Linked DNA regions of Homo sapiens: all the other regions are linked to region 2. Evidence: promoter capture Hi-C in 16 types of primary human blood cells and fetal thymus (Javierre and others, 2016). All regions are on one chromosome and are shown on one strand. Each heading gives the region's core, a stretch centred on a gene start or on the middle of the fragment in contact. The rest is flanking DNA. Distances are from core to core; before and after follow the strand shown.

What was found. The method cuts DNA at HindIII sites, captures the fragments that hold promoters and counts their contacts. A CHiCAGO score of 5 or more calls a contact.
Region 1: the fragment with the promoter of FAP here is called in contact with the fragment with the promoter of GCG in region 2 in 1 of 17 cell types (megakaryocytes); the score reaches 5.1 in megakaryocytes.
Region 3: a fragment that was not itself captured here is called in contact with the fragment with the promoter of GCG in region 2 in 1 of 17 cell types (megakaryocytes); the score reaches 6.1 in megakaryocytes.

What each region holds. Positions count from the first base shown.
Region 1 is chr2:162,241,338-162,244,936 of GRCh38, reverse strand. FAP (fibroblast activation protein alpha) reads left to right here and starts at 1,492. Exons shown (of 26, transcript NM_004460.5): 1 at 1,492-1,615; 2 at 1,945-2,029. The coding sequence starts at 1,610. The HindIII fragment of the contact is 18,804 bases long and covers 1-1,842 here.
Region 2 is chr2:162,150,543-162,153,790 of GRCh38, reverse strand. GCG (glucagon) reads left to right here and starts at 1,544. Exons shown (of 6, transcript NM_002054.5): 1 at 1,544-1,633. All of the region lies in intron 1 of LOC101929532 (a long non-coding RNA gene), which reads right to left. RefSeq lists a promoter at 1-1,656. The HindIII fragment of the contact is 4,864 bases long and covers 1-3,053 here.
Region 3 is chr2:162,274,379-162,277,953 of GRCh38, reverse strand. It overlaps IFIH1 (interferon induced with helicase C domain 1), which reads left to right. Exons shown (of 16, transcript NM_022168.4): 10 at 261-539; 11 at 1,008-1,267. Among named protein-coding and RNA genes, the nearest start is that of FAP, 33 kb to the right of the region's middle. The HindIII fragment of the contact is 907 bases long and covers 975-1,881 here.

The DNA.
Region 1 (3,599 bases), core at 243-2,742, 91 kb before region 2:
CAGTTCATTCAGGACCTGGCTGCTGGCTTTTATCTGAGATCTGAGGATTTCACAATCACTTGGAGATACCTACAAGTGTATAGCACACCTTGGATATTACTCTTAATGATTACTTCATTTTGTAAAGAGGTGACTCCACCAACAGCAAAGGAGAGGGCCCAGCCCCAGCCACCAGGAATACAGTTCTCTGCCAGTAAGTGCCTAATGACTCATTTTCCTCAACAGAATTTTCATAAGGCTGGAATTCAGGGAGGGATGTCTGGAGAATGTCTGAAAGGAAGTTCACAAGCCACTGTCCTGCTCTTTGCTGGAGAAAGTGTCCCGTGGTAGCCAGAGAAGTTGACTAAGGCAAACAGCAACATGTTTTGGTAACATTTCCCCATTACCTTTCATGTACAATCCAAGAAAGGTTGCCATGAAGTGTTTTAATCAGGTTGGGAACATTATAAACTTCGAAAAAAGAAAACCATTAGTGGAAAAATTAAGGACACAGTAGATTTAACAACTGTGTTTACGTGGAACCACAAAATCTATCCAAGTGAATTGCATTAAAACAGACAGAACACTCCAAGAAACTGTTGTATGTGTATTTTTTTTAATTCAGTCAACCATTTTACTAATCTGTCAAGATGACCAATTTCTTTGGAATTATGTAGATTTAGCCAAAATGAAATTATACATAAGATTTACTTTTCTTTTCAGATGCTTTTTTATTTATTTTTAAATCTTTATAATTACTAGATGTTCTCCTCTCTCAGAAGATATTCTGAGAGGAAAGCAAAAATACCACTCTTGTAAAGCCATTTCCATTCTTCCAAAGGTCTGCTGGTAAATTATTCTTACTGATCTTTCCATCTTTCTAGCCTGTGCATACACACCTAACCCATACTAAATTTCACCAGATGGCATTTTATTTCTTTAAAGTAAAGCAGCCGTGGGTTTAGACAGTTGAATTTTTAAACTTCTGTATTTACTGAAAGTGCATATGGTGCTATATGGACAAAGAAATTGTGCTGAAAGAAAAACATTTCTGTCTGCAATACCTCATAATCTTCCAGAGGAAAAAAAAGTGCAGTTATATGGCACATTTCTCACAAAATCTTATGTGGCTTCAATGTTCTTCCTCTGTTAAAAAGTAGATATATGTTTAATGTACAGACCTGCAAGTTTCATTATTTTAAATTCATCTTTTAGTGGCAAATAAAAATGTTATGCAAAACCCAATGACTTGCTAAAGTGATCCTTCAGTGAATTCTAGAAGAAAATGCAACATAAACCTGAACTGGTAAAAAAGAAAAAATAAAAACCTCTGTATGTCAACGTAAGCAGATGTTGGTGTAGTTACAAGGATGAGAAGGCTATAAAACTTCCCTTGAGTCACTCACAGTTCATTTGAGGGCCAAGAACGCCCCCAAAATCTGTTTCTAATTTTACAGAAATCTTTTGAAACTTGGCACGGTATTCAAAAGTCCGTGGAAAGAAAAAAACCTTGTCCTGGCTTCAGCTTCCAACTACAAAGACAGACTTGGTCCTTTTCAACGGTTTTCACAGATCCAGTGACCCACGCTCTGAAGACAGAATTAGCTAACTTTCAAAAACATCTGGAAAAATGAAGGTTAGTATAAGCAACCTCAAGTATTCTTAAAAAATTAGGGTTGGCTGGATTGAACGTGATCAGAGTTTTCTATTGTTTAGAAGGTGAAGATTTGTACATAAGTATTTACTTCCTCAATGGGTTGGGATTGGAAAATTGTTCTAAATATACTGTAGAAACATTTGTCCTTGCAGAGCTGGAAGAATTCCAGCAATTATAGCCGGATCAGTGGAAAACAATCAAAAGCTTTGTGGGGCGAGAGAAAAAGGATTTAGGTGTAAACAAAATCTTGCCATTTCTACTATTTAGCAGGAACTGTGTGTATGCCTAATTCTCTTTATTTTATGTAGACTTGGGTAAAAATCGTATTTGGAGTTGCCACCTCTGCTGTGCTTGCCTTATTGGTGATGTGCATTGTCTTACGCCCTTCAAGAGGTAAGAACTTTCTCTGATTTGCTCTATCTGCCTAGAATAGCTTGGAAAATGTACTAATGCAAGATCACAAGTGGTTGAACATTTCCTAAGTGCTTATGTTCCAAAGTAAGTCTGTTATTTCTAAGAAGACATATAAGCTCACAGATATGTTGTTGTGCAAGACCAGAAATACTGAGGAATTTAAGGCATGGGTAGGAAGAGATTTACAGTGTTATTTCAGCAATAGAAAAACCTAAGAACTATGCTGCATCACCCCCACAACCCCCAAAAATATATGCTAAATACAAGCTTTGACAGGCCTTTAGAAACAACATTTTTAACTAACATTGCTTTTCATTATTAGGTTTGTCTCGTGGAAAGTAAAAATGAGTAAGAATGGAAAAGTTAAAACAGAATCTATGGACTTTTTTTATTACTAAATAGTCTTTCCAAAAATTTAGGGAGGAAGTTGAGAATACAGATCTCAGGAATAGCTGTATAGAAAAAGCAAAGTTGTTGTTTTAGATGTAGTAGCACTGCACATCAAATTAGAAAACCAAACATTGTTAAGCAAGCATTTTGATCAGTCATAAATTGGATCCTTTTACAAAAAAGGCTTAGATTGACACTGATCTCACTTTGCTAAAAATTGGAAGGTACTATGGGCTGATATCAGAGCTAGTTTAAATATAAAGTAGGACTATGTTGATAGATAATCTAGTGATATTAGGGAAATAGCTTTTTATGAAAATATTTATGAAGAGAAACTCAAGCTTCTGAAATGGAAAAAAAATCCAGTAATAACAGGTCTTATGTCTTTGTGTCTAGGAAAGGGGAAAAATTTGTACTAATAAATACTAAAAGTTTATGATAACAAATGTGGGAAATATCTTGGTTAAAAGTTAACTGATAGTAAATGAAGATCAATAAAATAACTTCAGCTAAAGAATGTATGAGTCCTGAATGACTGGACTGTTGCTATTAAAAAGAACATAGAAAAATGTTTTCGAAAATTAAAAATAATCATGAGATTTTCACAGAATTACAAAATAGAATAGGTTAACCCATAAGATGAAGTCAGCTGATATCTTCAGTGTTAATTTCAGTCTTTGTTTCTGCTCTCTGCCAGCACAAGATTCTTCTTAGGCTGTTGAGAGGTATGTAGTGTGTGTACATATCTTTCATAAATTTTCATGTTAAAATTGTTTTCAGACTCATCTCTGAACTCAGTGGTCTTGGGGCCACATTTCCCTCATACCAGCAATTGTCAGGTAGTGGATTAGGTCATATAGATCCTTTGAATGTTAATTCATTAAAAATTAGCTCCTGATTTTTAAAGAAACTCAACCTTGAAATTGATACTCTGCACCCTCAGAAATAAATGTTCTTGGAACAAAAGTTTGTTAATTTTATAGGGCACTTGCCTCCATGTCCATAGGGAAGGATGAATTTCACTATGGAATTCAAGCTATAATTTCTAATAAGAAATGCATTATATTTACATATTTACAAATGATGTATAGAGATACACATACACAGATATTTGTGTGATCACATATAATCTCAATCCCTACCCTCTTTCCAAGTTTAG
Region 2 (3,248 bases), core at 295-2,794:
GAAGCAGGTCTCAGATCAAGACACCAGCAGTACCAATGAGGAGATAAAGTGAGGCAGATATTTTATGCAGCTGTGCTTCTCAAATTTTAATATGAACACAGATTTCCTTAGGATTTTGTTAAAATACAGATTCTGATAGGCACGAGATTCTGCATTTCTAGCAAGCTCCCAGATGATGCTGGTCCTTAGACCACACTTTGCAAAGCAAGGCTTTCTAGCACCCAATAATCACCAGCACAAAAACCCCTCAATGATGTCTTCCAGTCTGACTTGAAAGTGATCTCTGTGGCCTTCAAGTAGCTCTACATTCAAACGTTGGTCTCATGCACAAATTGAACAGTTAAGTTCATTTGGAATATTTCTCCAGTTGCCTCAATGATTTACCTCCATACAAGTCATCAGTGACATCATGCGGTTGGTTATATTAGAATATTGGAATCTAGTTAGGAAATGTTGTGATGAGTTTGCAATATGGAATAAAATTTTTATTTTAGAAAAGACATTTACCAACCCCTCTCATTTTACAAATAAGGAGGCAGAGACACAAAGAGAATGCGTGACTTGACCAAGGTCACACAGCTGGTCAATAACAGCAAAACTAAAATCAAATTATGCCAACACTACTTCTTATGCTGTCTTTCCAGATTATTTACCATTTTTCTATTTCTCTACAGTGACCAGAATCATTTCTGCTAAATGTCACAGATCATTAAAGCCTGTGTGTCCAGTCACAAAACTCAGGAAACGTGAAAATATGCATCTCATCTCAACAGTTTTCCTCATATCTCATTCTTTTGTAACTTAGTACCCCACTCTCTTATCAGTAAAATTAGATTTTAAATATATATTAGAAGGAAAAAAATACCAGATAATTTCCTGTTAGCATCAGCTATCTTGGATGTTTAATCTTCATTTTGCTCCATCCTTTCTGCCTGAATTCCATTTATTAAAACAGAACACATAGGGGTTTAATCAATATCCTTAAATTTTCCACAAACATAACATAAATAAACTCCACGTTGTGAGGAAGAGAGGATTTTTAATACATATGTGTTGAATGAATGATCATTATTTAGATAAATGAATGACTGAAGTGATTGTTATATTCAGGTAAATTCATCATGGCTAGGTAGCAAACCAAAGACTTGTAAGAACCTCAAATGAGGACATGCACAAAACAGGGATGGCCATGGGCTACGTAATTTCAAGGTCTTTTGTCTTCAACGTCAAAATTCACTTTAGAGAACTTAAGTGATTTTCATGCGTGATTGAAAGTAGAAGGTGGATTTCCAAGCTGCTCTCTCCATTCCCAACCAAAAAAAAAAAAAAAAGATACAAGAGTGCATAAAAAGTTTCCAGGTCTCTAAGGTCTCTCACCCAATATAAGCATAGAATGCAGATGAGCAAAGTGAGTGGGAGAGGGAAGTCATTTGTAACAAAAACTCATTATTTACAGATGAGAAATTTATATTGTCAGCGTAATATCTGTGAGGCTAAACAGAGCTGGAGAGTATATAAAAGCAGTGCGCCTTGGTGCAGAAGTACAGAGCTTAGGACACAGAGCACATCAAAAGTTCCCAAAGAGGGCTTGCTCTCTCTTCACCTGCTCTGTTCTACAGCACACTACCAGAAGGTAAGATGATTATAAAATTGTAAATCCTGTTTGGCGGACAGTGAAGTATTTTTAAGGGATCAAAATATTATAAATTAAAATGTTGTTCTTTCATCTTAGACTTTATTACTAATAGTACACAGAGAGGAACTGAGATGGAAAAGGTTATATCAAATGCATTTACGTGTACTTTAATATAGCGAAGCCGCAAAGCGAGTTGGAAAAATAATTATATGCAAAAATATAAAACAGAAAAAAAACAAAGATTCAAATCAATGCACTTGTTATAATACTTAACTGTTATGAGAGTTGTATTTTAAAATAATTGGTAACATTTTGAAGAATAAATATTTTTCTTGGACTTGATAGATCTGTATACTACTTTGAACAGAAGGCGTCTTTTAAAGTAAGCAGAAATGTGTCCATTAGGGAGCCTATAACAGAAATTGCTTTTTACCAATTAAAATCTCTGGTTTTCCAAAAGAGCAAATTAAATAACATCTTTCAAATATTCAAATTTCAGACATCTATCAAAAAATCAAAGTCCATTAAAGCAACTCTTTGTAAATAAAACATAGCGTACTTGGTGCAGAGAACAAGTGTCATCTATTTGGGGGGTTTTCTTTGGATGCATCTGAGTGAAGCCATACATTAATAACTATTTACTATGTATTGAGGATAAATAGTAATAAAATCTAAAATAGCTACCCTCTGCAATAAAATTTTAATTTGTCTTTTTAGATTAGGCTCCTAGAGACAAAAAACAAATTTACAAAGATCTTTGATGGAGTAAATGATTAAGTGGTGTATTTTTCCATACATACTGAAGACCTATTACATAAAATGAGCTAACCAGTTTGAAAAAGGATTTATATGGACTACAATGCCAACACATTTGGGGATAGAACATAATGTCTTCTTTTTTAGGTCTAAGGTTAATCTTTCTGTAAGACTTCCTACTTATTATTGTTACCATACTTTCCTTTAAATTTTAGTGGAAATTTGTAGTTCTTACAAAACTGCAGGCTCTCTTTAGACTACCTAAAGAGGGGGGAAATTAACTGGAAATTATTTTCTTATTGAATAAGATTTTAATACTAAAATAACATAAATCTCTACTTTCTCAGCAATTGTATTCAAACAATTAACTCTATTCTTTTTTTTTTCACAATTCGATAGACTTTCACAAACAAATAAGTGAGATTTTTAAAGCCAGTTCTTTCTTCAGAAGAAGTCATTTATTGTTGGTAATATTATTAGATACGGAACGCTCACTTCTTTATGTGGTTTATGGTTGTTCTTTCTTCCATCAGCTCCTGAAGTGGCAGGATACCTCCTGCTCTAAATCCTCCTCAATGGAACATAATAGGAGATATTGCAAAACGCTTAGGACTTTGGGTGGAATGAATTTTTTTTTCAGTCTTGTGAAAGACTAAAAGCTTTTACAAGAAACTTTTCAACAGTGGTATAATTTTTAAAAGAAGTGCTTACTTTAATATTTAAATATTCCTGCAAGCACGGATATAACAATTGAGAGTTATAATCAGTAGATACTACCTAAATATATGGCAAGGTTTCCAAAGTCTGCCAACCGGTTAAACTGAAGCATAGCAAAATGTCAAATTGGTAATTTGAT
Region 3 (3,575 bases), core at 179-2,678, 120 kb before region 2:
AACTCAACTAATATATTTTCATGCCATTTCTCTGTGCATCAGCTACATGTTTTTGCTGAGGCAGAACTCAAGCAGCAAGTCTAGGAGTTGGAAAACTTGCCCTGTTTCAGAGCTCAGGACACATTTTGAGCCTTAACTTGCCCATTTTAAAACCAAGGTGAAGCCAGTTTTGCAGTTAGTAACATATATTCAAGTCCATGGCACAATTTTAGGGGGTTTATATGCTTATTATTTCACTTACATAATATATTTTTTCACAGCTGCAAAAGAAGGAAATCGCAAAGAACGTGTTTGTGCAGAACATTTGAGGAAGTACAATGAGGCCCTACAAATTAATGACACAATTCGAATGATAGATGCGTATACTCATCTTGAAACTTTCTATAATGAAGAGAAAGATAAGAAGTTTGCAGTCATAGAAGATGATAGTGATGAGGGTGGTGATGATGAGTATTGTGATGGTGATGAAGATGAGGATGATTTAAAGAAACCTTTGAAACTGGATGAAACAGATAGATTTCTCATGACTTTATTTTTTGGTAAGATTCAAAGTAACATATACTGGTGTCATTCATTTACCTTTTCAACATGAACTTACTGCTTCTCATAAGCTCTCCAAAAAGAGAAATATCTTTTGAAAGAAGAAATCCCACTCAGATTGGAACTATTTCTAATGATATGACCAGATTAGCTACCAGTTGTATGATCACAGTCAGTCATTTGGTCATTCAGTTTTATTGTCAAGACAATTGTAATGAATTTATTTATTAAACCATCCTAATTATTAGATATAGCGCAAGATTGTAGATGAGCCACAATTCATGAAACCTTCTAGTGTAATTCGTTGTATGTTTTACTAATTTATACTTCCAAATAGTTTTTAAATTAATTAATTTTTAATCAATAAAACTGTATATTTTTGGTGTACAAAATGTTTGATATATCTGTACATTGTGGAGTGGCTAAATCAAGCTTGTTAACATATCAACTCTAATTATTTCTTAAAGAAAACAATAAAATGTTGAAAAGGCTGGCTGAAAACCCAGAATATGAAAATGAAAAGCTGACCAAATTAAGAAATACCATAATGGAGCAATATACTAGGACTGAGGAATCAGCACGAGGAATAATCTTTACAAAAACACGACAGAGTGCATATGCGCTTTCCCAGTGGATTACTGAAAATGAAAAATTTGCTGAAGTAGGAGTCAAAGCCCACCATCTGATTGGAGCTGGACACAGCAGTGAGTTCAAACCCATGACACAGGTATAAATATCCTTTTGGACGACTTCTTTTCTTTTCTTTCTCTTTTCTTCTTCTCTTCTCTTCTTCTCTTCTTCTTTTCTTTCAGACGAGGCCTCGCTCTGTCACTCAGGCTGAAGAGCAGTGGCATGATCAAGATTCACTGCACCCTTGACCTCCTAGGCTCAAGCAATCCTCCAGCCCCAGCCTCCTGAGCAGCTGGGACTCTAGGTGTGCACCACCACACCCAACTAATTTTTTTATCTTTTTTGTAGAAAAGGTGTCCCACTATGTTGTCCTGGCTTGTCTTAAACTCCTGGGCTCAAGCCATCCTTCTGCCTCTGCCTTCCAAAGTATTGAGATTATAGGCACGAGCCACTGCGCTCAGCCTGGACTTCTTTTCTTATGCTGTTATTACTCTTCTCAAATTGTTTTTAGTCTTTTTCTACCAATCCTCTCACCACCCATGAATACATTTACAGGATAAAACACCTGTTCTTGAAATAAAATCTAAGGCTAATAGCAATCAAATCTGTGGTTTTTGAGAGGTTAAGTGTTGTTTTAGGAGTCATTTTTCCCACATAATAATTGGAAGAACTTTCTAAGTTTCCCTTGCAAAAATAAGTGACATGTAAGCTTAACAACAAAGTTCAGAAATGATTGCCATGTAGTATCAAGTGGAAAATTCAAACTCCCACAAAAATGTGTTCGTTATAACTAGAACTATGCAAAATATATTTACATAGAATGAGACCTCTAGGGAAACTTGAAAAAACTAAAGAATTTGATATATTAGAGATTTGGGATTCTGGTAAGTAGGTTTTCTGTTCCATTTTAAGGTGTTTTGTTTTACTTTGTTTACATGTTGCTTACTGTGGGCATAGTAAAAAAACACTTGGGTAAGAAAAAAAGGCACTAGTAGACATTACAAGCATGCATGAAGCAATGATGCCTTGTTAGAGTAAAATATTCTTCTGAGGGCTAAAATCACATTGACCCTGAGTCTTTCTGGACAAATGGATACTTCCTTTCTATTATAGTTATCACTATTCAAGCCAATGGAGCAAATTAATTCTGTTTCAGTGTTTGCTGGAAAAAAATTCTTGAAATGGTTCACTATAACTCTTTATATACCCTCTACATGCACTCCTGTGAGCATTGCCAATAAAATTAATGCCAGAGAAAGTACTGTTTTCCTTGGGTAACAAGTTTGCTTCCTTCTTTTTGATGAGATGTAGTTTGCTTTATATGTTTTTCTTTTTGCCTTAGCTTCCAGAAAGCTAGCAGGAAAAACTCAAGTTCAGTCTCACAGCCTCTGTGTTGATTCTTATGAGTTCTGTTTTTAAATTTCTATTATATTAACTTTAGCGTTGTGACTTTTATTGTAAGAGGGCTAAGCTTCTCTGTAAAAAGAGGTAGAGTGCAAATGAAAAGCCTATGTTCAAGCTACTTTCTGCTCCTTATTCATTTCAAACCAAGGGGCTGTGTGCCAAAATACAGAACATATTCCCTTCCTTCCCCACTCCTTGTATCCTCACCTTGTAAACTGGGGTGGACAAACTCCTTAGCAATGGTGTTAGGCATCTATGTGATGTGACTTGAAGATCTGACACTGTCTGGAATTTTTGTTATTAAAGTTACTCCTTCAAATTAAGACACAGGCATCTTCTGCTAAAATCCAAGAACATGTAAGTTTTTATCGGGAGATGTGAGGGCCGGAGGGAGAAATTTTCAGAGAAGACTCAAGAGAGGCCTTTCTACAGGGTTCTCCGACAGTTAGGAGTAGGAGTCAAATAAGGACTCACACTGCCTCTGAGAAGAAAGGGAAGGGGATGGAAGAACATACTTTTGGTCTGGCAGCTTTATTTTTGTTTAATGTATGGGGGCAATAGACAGTGTGGATGTGCACCAAATGCCAACTGGACCAACAGCTTTGATGAGAGTGGTTATGAAAATAAAACCACATTGTCCATATCAAGCTAGGTTTGTGCTCACTCATTTCTCCCATGTAAGGATGAGAGGTCATATTTTAATTTATTTATATTGACTTTCAAAATTCAGAGTTTTTTCATTTGAAAATAGTTTTATTTACAGTTGCATAACCTCTTCTTTCATTTTTATTTATATTGTCCCTTTGAATTGATAATATATTTACCTCATTCAAAATTAATGAGGCACAAGGCATACCACTGACCTCTAGTCTTCCAGCTCCCCTCCCTAGATGCAGCTGATGTTTTCAGTTTCTCTTGTGTCCTTTTGGGAATATTCCATAGCTTCTAACTCAAATGATTCTTAAAGTGACCAAATGCATATACAGTGTGCATTTTCTCTG